3 separate regions of the Homo sapiens genome follow, and regions 1 and 3 are each linked to region 2. The links are contacts of gene promoters, found by promoter capture Hi-C in blood cells and fetal thymus (Javierre and others, 2016). All regions are on one chromosome and are shown on one strand. Each heading gives the region's core, a stretch centred on a gene start or on the middle of the fragment in contact. The rest is flanking DNA. Distances are from core to core; before and after follow the strand shown.

Evidence for each region. The method cuts DNA at HindIII sites, captures the fragments that hold promoters and counts their contacts. A CHiCAGO score of 5 or more calls a contact.
Region 1: a fragment that was not itself captured here is called in contact with the fragment with the promoter of CMA1 in region 2 in 1 of 17 cell types (M0 macrophages); the score reaches 6.0 in M0 macrophages.
Region 3: a contact is called between a fragment that was not itself captured here and the fragment with the promoter of CMA1 in region 2, in 1 of 17 cell types (M2 macrophages). The highest score is 5.2, in M2 macrophages.

Annotation. Positions count from the first base shown.
Region 1 is chr14:24,682,901-24,686,001 of GRCh38, forward strand. No RefSeq gene overlaps it. Among named protein-coding and RNA genes, the nearest start is that of GZMB, 50 kb to the left of the region's middle. The HindIII fragment of the contact is 2,273 bases long and covers 688-2,960 here.
Region 2 is chr14:24,506,527-24,509,810 of GRCh38, forward strand. CMA1 (chymase 1) reads right to left here and starts at 1,739. Exons shown (of 5, transcript NM_001836.5): 1 at 1,652-1,739; 2 at 830-980; 3 at 1-78. The coding sequence starts at 1,709. RefSeq lists an enhancer at 348-1,547. The HindIII fragment of the contact is 2,718 bases long and covers 16-2,733 here.
Region 3 is chr14:24,657,184-24,660,357 of GRCh38, forward strand. No RefSeq gene overlaps it. Among named protein-coding and RNA genes, the nearest start is that of GZMB, 25 kb to the left of the region's middle. The HindIII fragment of the contact is 9,501 bases long and covers 1-3,174 here.

The sequences.
Region 1 (3,101 bases), core at 574-3,073, 180 kb after region 2:
TAATTCTTCATGTCTCTGCTTCCCTTTAATGAAAATTTATAAAAAAAAATGTGTATTTTTGTCTTCATTTTTTCAACTTATATTCTATCCAATTCTTGCCAATCTATGTTTCCCACCAATTAATGGAAATCATCTTTGTTAAAGTCATCAATATCCTCCTCCTTGCTAAATTTAGTATCATTTCTGTATCTTTTTCTTTTCCTCAGCAGTGTCTGACACTATGGACTATGCTGTCTTTCATAAAGCACGTTTGTTTGTTTGTTTGTTTTTTTACTGGCCTCTCATCTGGTTCTTTCCTGCTTCCTTCTAACATCTTTGTCCATGGTTTCTCAGTCTGTTTTCCTGGAGTCTCCTCTTCCCAGGCTCAGTCTGTCTCTTTATCTGTGCTTATTCCCTATGTAATCTCATTGAGTTCTATGGCCTTAAATACATTACCCATACACAGATGACTCCTGTGTTAACTAACTACTGTCACAGTAGCAGGTAGCCCCAATATCTCACTGCCTTACAAAAACGATTTATTTCTTGACCATTTACGCTAAGGCTGTGGGTCAGCTGTGGCTCTGCTTAGCTTTGCTAAACTCAGTGTGACTTATCCTAGATTGAAGAGCCCTTTTCTGGAATACGTTGTCTTATTGTGGAAAATAGAGCAAGAGAGTGCAACACAAACCATGAAATCATATTTAAAGCTTTTTCTCAGATATGTACATGTCCTCACATCTTATTAACTGAATTATTTCATGTATCCAAATATGTGAAGTGGAGACACATTGTCTCTCCGAAGAGGGAAGACAACTCACATGACAGAAAGTGAGTGAGGATAAATCATCCTATTAGACTATGGGAACAAATAATTGGGAATAATAATCTATCATGATCCAACATTGATCACATATATTTTCTTCCCTCAGAATACATCATATTCTTGCCCATAAAAACTTAGCCTAAGGGCTGGCTGACACCTGTGATTCCAGCACTTTGGGAGGTTGAGGCAGGAGGATCACTTGAGCCCAGGAGGTTGAGGTTGCTGTGAGCTGTGATCACACCACTGCACTCCAGCCTGTGTGACAGAAAAAGACCCCATCTCTAAAGTCATTTAAAAGCAAATTAGCCTAAGGGCCAACTTTGCTTTTCAAATAGTCACAGACTGGCAGCACTTTTGACAACCTAACTCTCTCAAACACTTTGTTGTATTGTTTTAATCTATTTGGTACTGGTTGGATCCATGTTCCAATAGACACAACCATTACTCATTTCAAGAAAGACTTTCTCTAGACTTGATTATGGGTATGTGGGTATATCATGCTTTCATAGGAACGTACTCTTGATCTCTTTTCCCTGAGCCGTTTTGTCCAGTGGTGGAAAAAAAAATGTCTGCAAGTCACCTTAATCCAACCAGAAATCTTAACATAGGCCTGATGATGACACCTTTGGTTCTGTCTTTGCCCTGAGATGGAGTATTAAAAGGCCTTTCTATTTCAAGGAATACTTAAATTTTATATTTTATAGGTGGGAGGTGAGAAGGATTTTATTGTCCAAACTTGAAGGCCCAGAATTTCTTTGCTGCCTATTTTCCATCTCATTCATTGAAATAGGTGAATTCTTTCTGAGCTCACCTCTTATTCATATTACCATCATGCTCTCTTTCAATTTTTCAATCCTTCTATATTTGTCCATATGCAGCAAGTCCATTAGGAACATTATCTGCCTTCCAAGTTTAGAAGACACAATTTGACCAAACTTTTCACGACTGCATATCATGAATCTTACTTGTCCAACCTCCTGGAAGAATTCCCTTGCTACCTAGCCCTAAAGTTAATGCCTCATATTTTATATTTTTAGATATGGTAGCACTTCTGTTACCAATTTTTTTATTAGTTGGCCTTTACTGAGGTTGCAAATAACTCCAACATATCAGTATTTAACAACAATAAACATTTATTGATTTCTTGTTCATGTTACATGAGGGCTGAGGGATTATCTGTGACTCAGCTCAGCTTGACTGTGTTCAAGTCCATGCGTCTTTTTATTTCAGGACCCAGAACTGATGTAGCCACCCTTATCTTGGACATATTGTTCTTATAGTGTGGAGAGCAGGAACAATAGAAACAGAGGTAAACCAGATAATCACATCAGAAACTTCTAGTTTGACATAGGAAACTTACATCTGGGTGGCCAGAACATGCTCATAAATTCCATGAGGAAGGAAGGTATAGTCATCCCTGGAAGAAAAAGTCACATGACCAGAAAGAGAGCAAATAGCTGGGGTCAATAATACAATCTTCTAAGACTCCCAGATGTATGTCTTTAGCACTGGCATCTCTTCCTTTTGAGCACCAAACATATATTTAACTGCCTACCCAACATTGCTATTGAGATGTCCAATAAGCATCTCAGATTTAATATGCCTTAAACAAAACTCCTGAGTGCTCTGTTCACCCCAACCTGTTATGCCCTGCCTTCCATACCTCAATAAATACCATCAGTATTCTCCCAGGTAATCAGGAGGAAACCTCCAAGTTTTATTTGATTCGCTTTTCCCTTTCATAGTCAATGCATGAGTAAATTCTGCTGGTTCTACCTTCAATATACATCCCGATTTCTTACCATCGCCAGCACCATCATCCTAATAATCTTCTAACTTGTCTCCCTGCTTCTATTCTTGCCTCCCTAGAATAAATTCCTCATACAGAAGACAGAGAGATCTTTGAAGCATGCAAACTATATCTTGTTAGTCCCTGCCCCAAACCCTGCAACGTCCTGGTTCCTACACAGACACTGGGTTTCTATTCTACATGGTCAAGTCAATAGTAGGTTCAGAGTGACAGAAAGATCAGTATTAGAAATTTATACACTTGGGTAAATCAAAAGAAATCTACTTCTCTAAAGGACAGTAAAAGCCCCTGTAGACTACACATCAAATGTATCAGCAACATTTTTCTGGACAAGTGGTGATTGTAAGCTTTTGGATCTCGAAATGTTTCATTAGCTATGAGTTCATGTCCTTTGTAGGGACATGGATGAAATTGGAAACCATCATTCTCAGCAAACTATTGCAAGGACAAAAAACCAAACACCGCATGTTCTCACTCATAGGTGGG
Region 2 (3,284 bases), core at 489-2,988:
TGCTTTATAACCTCAAGCTTCTGCCATGTGTCTTCTTCCTCTGTTATGTTATGGGCTCCAAGGGTGACTGTTATAGACCTGTTGTGAGGAAGAAGGAAGGAAAAGGAGCGACAGTGATGGCTTGGGGTTTCTTCTGAGGTGAGCTCATTCTGAGAAAAGAGGACTAAACTCTGTCACTGGGTCGCCGGACTCTACCCATCTCCCTTTTCATGGGCCACTTGTGGCATTTGAGGGCTCAGGCTTAACTCATGAAAGAGCTTTCTCAGGAAACAGACACAATTTCTACGACCCCTGGAATTGCTGGGGACTGAACAGGCCAGGGAGGACTCAGGGGACAGGGTTCACACTTCCTAATTCAGGGAACCCTGCATGAGGGCCAGCCCCTGAAGCAGGAGATATCAGTTAAACGGGAAAGTGGGGGTCTCATGTAGACCCTGTTCTCTGCCTCCCATAAAATGATGGGTTCAGGACCCTGAGAACTAGAGGCCAGTGTTCTTGAAAAGGCCATAGAGGAAGTGGCCCTGAGACTGGGTGGGGCCCTGAAAAGTGAGCCGTGTGTCTTGAGTTGGGTAGGGGTGAGGGGTGCTACTGCAACAAGAGGGACCTTGGACAGGACCTCCTTTTCCTCCGAAGGGGAGCTTAGCTCACAGTGACTGAGGCTCAAGGAACTATTCAAACACAGACTAAAGTCTTTCAGCCCAAGTCTTCCCTCTCCTGAAAGTTGACAAGACCCAGGACCCCCTCTTCAGTCCCCAGTGCAGGTGTATTCCTGGATGCTACTCTGGTTGTTCATCTCCCATTTGGAGATAAATAGACCCTGTTGTCTCACCTTCCTGCACAATGAGCAGCCGTCAGCACAAAGTTCCGTCTTATAAGGAAACCACCACAAAATTTTGAGGGACCGTTGGAAGTTACAATTTCCAGGTAGGCCATGTAGGGGCGGGAATGTGGCTTGCATTCTGTGCCCCCGATGATCTCCCCTGGAACAGAGCACCCCAGGGTTTGAACACGGCCATAGATACTCTCTCCAATGAATGGACAAATTGGGTTAAAGCTGAGCTAGGCTTCCCTGGAATCTCATTCTCACCCTGTGTTCCGCCCATCTTCCCTCTCCTGTCTCCTGTATTTCGTATCTTTCCCCACCCATAACCTCCCAGGTGAAATCTCATTCTTGCCTCTGCTCCATTCTGATGTTTTCATCTCAGACTTCTCCCACTCCCACCTTGCCCTGGCCCACCCTCCTCTGTCTCTGTGTAGGACCCACTGTCCAGGTTCCTGTTTTAGATTTCTCCATAGCTCTTGAGCATGGTCACAGAGTGAGAAAGTCACAAAGTAATGGGTAGCCCTGATGCTCAGAAGATTAAGAGGACATGTCTGTTTTCCTGGGGATACCCCTTTTCCTTCCACTTGCTCTGGGCTTTTCTACAATTGAGGTGAAATTCCTTGTTCCTGGGGGCTGTCCTAGGCTGTAGAGAATGGCAGTGGGTGGGGGTGGGGGTGGGGTGGCACACATCCCAAGTGGAAATTTCCCTCTGGGACTCTTGAAGAGAGATCTTGGAACCCTGTTTAGGAGTCAGCTATTTTCAGACTAAACATCTTTGTTTCAGGAGCTGATACTGCAGATTTCAGAGGGAAGAACCCTGATACTCACCAGCTTCAGCTCTGGAGCACAAGAGAAAGAGCAGCAGGGGGAGAGGAAGAAGCAGCATCTTCCCAGAGAGGCTGCCTGAGCAAATGCTGGTTTTCCTTTCCAGTCTTGGGTTTTATAACTCCCAGAAGGCAAGAGAGGGGCAAGGCTGGTAACCACAGGAACTGCATGGTCACGTTTTCTTCTCTCACTCTGAATTGGCTGTTTCTGATCAGAAGTTCCCCTAGAATCACCCAGTGTTTTTCTAGAAAGGAACTTGAGCCCTGAACTCCCAAGTGCTGGCTTCTCAGATGTACCCTCAACTATGGTGACTTTTCTGGAGTTGGGGGCAGGAAATGGAGGGACCATGTTTTTCTTTCCCAATTAGGGCAGCTTGTGAAAGGCCCACTGAACGTTCAGTGCAAAGACTTTTATGGCTATGTTCCATAGTCAGAAATGCATATTGCAGAGTCCCAGTGCATGCACATATGTATGTGTGAGTATGTAAGCACAAATTAAAGGTTTCAGGAAACAATCTTTATCTTAACCATGTGCAGTGTTTTCTGTTAGTTTCCATTCCACTCCACTCCACTCCATTCCACTACACGTCAAAACTTGAGCAACAACCCCATTTAAATGATAATTCCTTGTAATTTGAAAAACATTGACCTGGATCTCTCTCCTCCTCTGAACCACATGTTTTTGACAGAAGAGAGATCCAAGGAGGGTAGATGTGGGAAAAGAACAGACCCTAGGACAGAACTTTATGCAAAGAGCAATTGGGATTGGAATTAGCATTTTCTGAGAGTCTAGGTGTATCATATATTGTCACAACTCTTAGATATATTATTACTTTCACGGCAACCCTATCAATATGTATTACCATTATGATCATTATCATGTCATGATAGTCAATTTTTTAAATCAGCTATCATAGCTTATGGTTCAGAAATAGATTTTCCTGATATCAAATCAAGGTCCCTTTCTGCTCTAGCACTAGAGAGAAATAGAGGAATAGAGTCCTGCCAATGTGCAGGGGAAGTAAAGATGTAGAAGGGTGTTTGCTCCAGAGAGGTTGGGGTTTCCTACTGTTGCATTAAGAATCAAGCTTTCCACAACAACCTGGGGACACACCATTACTGTCACTTTACAATTGTAGAATTGATACTCAGACCCATTAACATGACAAAGATCACACACCTTATAATATCAGAAGTGGGTTTCAAGCACATAGCTTTTATTTTCCCTGGACTTACAGAAAGCAGTCCACATGGTGGACTGTCATTTCTCTTGGAGATTTATAAGGCATTTAGTTCAAAGACGGGGATGAGTAGTGTATAAGTGCCTTTCCCAAATCATCTCACTATGCCCTTGGTCTCAGGTTGGGCTTGTGACCAGAGTGATCCACTCCTTAGTATATATTGGCCAGGTCCTCTGTTGCTTTTAACTTAATTTCCCAAGTTCTACCTACAGCTCTAACTCTCTCTAGAATAAGACATTTAAACACATCCGTAATGTCTTTTCAAATCTGGTCTTCTTAAGTGTCCTTGTACCACTTTCTTCACTCTCTCGGGGGTTGCCAGAGAATATTCAGAATGCCCAGTTAAATTTGTATTTCAGATGAACAACAAATCATTTTTTAGTTAAGTATGTCCAA
Region 3 (3,174 bases), core at 325-2,824, 150 kb after region 2:
GTAATGGTCTCTCATGAGTTGCACAGTGAAAAGGCTTTGGCTTCTTCACGTTTTAGGTAAAATCAGAATCAGACGTTTATGGAGGGCAGTGTGGGGATAGTAGTTTGGGGCCAAGAGTTCCATTCGTTTTTGAAGGAAAACTGAGAAAGAAGAGGAACTGAGATTCCTAGTAATTCTGGGATATTATTCCCTGTGGATAAACCCCACTTTGGTCCCCTCATCAAGAAAGGTTTGTGCCTTAGTCTTCACGGTCCAGGACCAGGCTCTCTAAGTCATCTGCTAACTTAATGTTCCATGACTAAACAAGCAGTACTATTTCTTTCCTTTTTTCTTCCTCTCAGTTGGTGCTCCATCTATACCAGGTTGCTACTTCATGTTTGGACTTGGATGAAACAGCATACTATAAGGCATGAAACCTGGCTTCCTGAGTGACAGCTGAGAGGAGAGATGTAGCTGAACCAATCAGCTACAACGTCATTCCAGTGTCCATACTTACATAGTGGAAAATCCTCTAAAGCCCACTTCTGAGAGAACACTAATTTCTAGATTTCACATTTCCCGAATCCCGTATAAGATCAGTTCTTTCTTGGTTCAGAGGCACTACTTTACAAATATTGTTCTCCCTTGCCTAGCGAGCAATAAACTTAGCTTTTTGTTTCAGACACTGAATGCTATTCTTTCCTGTGACACTCCTTGAGATTGTTCTAGAGAAGTAAGTCCCACATGCTGAATGTCCGAGCTTGCTAAGCAACTTGCCTTGTCTCTTAGCAGCTTGTTGTGAAGTAGTGGGCAGCTATGGTACTATAACACACCAAACTGCATGGCATCTTTACTTGACTCATTCTTTTTCCTCACTATCATTGCCCTGGATTTGTACCTCCCAAACAAATTGTTATCATTTTTATCCTTGCTTCAGGCTCTGCTTTTATAGGAGTCCGGATAGGACAAAGTGGGAAAGTACAATTTTTGATACTTCTTCCTTTGTCTCAGGCTGGAAGTTAAAAGGTAAGACAGAATCTTCTCATAAATTAAAACAAGATAATTTCCTTGGACATCATGCCATTAATTTTGTTTTTCTCAGCTGAGTGAGGTGGTGTGTCCTATAGTACCAGCTATTCAAGAAGCTGAGACGGGAGGATTGCTTGAGCCTGGGTGTTTGAGGCTGTAGTGTACTATGATCATGCCTGTGAATAACCACTGCACAACATAGCAAGACCCTATTTCTAAAAGAAAAACAAAAAGTCTTTTATCTCCTGGAACTCTTTAAATATTTCTCCCCTCTGTTTAACTAAGGTATGTGATAAGAGGGTCTTTTCTTTTTCCCTTTTACAATATGTTTCTGGGAGACTGACCAGGAATTTCACCTAAATACTTCCCATTGGTAGAGTAAAGCCAGCATTGCAGCCTTATAAAGAACATTCTGAGATTCTCAGCCCAAGTGAGGGAAGGAAGACTGTCTTGTGCTTTGATATGGTTTGGCTCTGTGTCCATTGTAAGTTTCCTGAGGCCTCCCCAGCCATGCAGAACTGTGAGTCAATTAAACTTCTTTTCTTTATAAATTACCCAGTCTCGGGTATTTCTTCATGGTAATGTGAGAACGAACTCATACATGCCTTCTACAGGCAAAGCACATCATTGGGAAAATGAGATGTCTATATTGGCAAATAATTTAGTGACAAAGGAAGAGCTGTGGCTCAGTCCTCCAGAAGAAACTGCTGGTCTCAAAAGAGACTGTCTTTTCTTTCACACTTCCATATACTTCATTATTCTTGTATTGCAGTTATGTGATTATCCAACCAGACAGTGATGGCAACAACAGCCAAGGAATAATTGAATGTCCACTATGGCGTGCTCAATGACAGTCTTGAGGACAATGGAGAGCTTTTATGTTGTCAGGGAATGATGCAGATGTTAGGAAATGATGCAAAATACACAAGATGTGGATGTTAAGGCATGGGATGAGTATGGAGTCATAAGGAGAGAGGTAGTGAGAAACCGATAGTTTGTAAGTTACTTAGTAGATACTCAGAAGACTGTTGAAGGATGAGTGATAGAATAAAAGAGTGACTTTCCAGTAGCTTCTTGAGATCTCCAGTGAATCAGGCTTGGAGGAAACTTAGAATGAATTAATTATCTGCAAGTGAATTTTTGCATTTTTCTAAGTTTATGCAGCAAATCCATGCAACTTTTTATGTCTCTCCACAGATTATTTGATTTCTGACATTTGATCTCATCCCCTTTGTCTACGTTTTAATGGTTGTTTTTAAATTGAGTGATGTTCAGGCCCCTTCCTGCATATCTCTACCTTCCATCATTAAGGCTCCTTTCTAGGAACATGACATTCTAAAATGAAGACTAATTGTTTATCTTCAGTGTTGCCTTTTTATATAAAGAATAGATTTTCATCTTTAGGAATTCCACTAACTGTCTTTATTTTATGTAATTTCCATGCCAGTTTTTTCTTTATTATAAAGATTTCTTAGCCGGGAACGGTGGCTCACACCTATAATCTCAGCACTTTTGGAGGCTGAGGCAGGTGGATCGTGGTCAGGAGTTCAAGACCAACCTGGCCAAGATGGTGAAACCCTGTCTACTAAAAATGCAAAAAAAATTAGCTGGGCATGATGGAAGGTGCCTGTAATCTCAGCTACTGAGGAGGCTGAGGCAGAGAGCTGCTTGAACCCGGGAGCCGGAGGTTGTAGTGAGTGGAGATCGTGCCACTGCACTGCAGTCCGGGTGACGGAGTGAGACTCCATTTCAAAAAAAAAAAAAGTTTCTTTATTATAAAACGATTGCACACTACATGCCTGATGCTTCACCTCAACGTTTGCCTCTGGCATCTTGCTTCCAACCTGAACTCTGACCAGATGAAAGGGAGGAGGGCACAAATGATACACTTGGGGAAACCTGCAACAGGCAGACACCAGGAGCTTGGTGGGTGGAATCCATGTGTGAAAACCCTCTGTGCTATGGCTTTCAGATGGATGGTAGACCTTCCAACGTGGCCTGAGTTAGTCATGATAAAAAACCTTGGCAACATTTTCAGTGCCCTAAATTTGATAAAAACAAGATAATACCTTGAAGAAATGTCATAGAAAGATGAAAAATATTGAGGGAATGAGTTAGGGCTGTGAACGTACTGTGATTACTCAATAACCACAAACTTGCAATTAA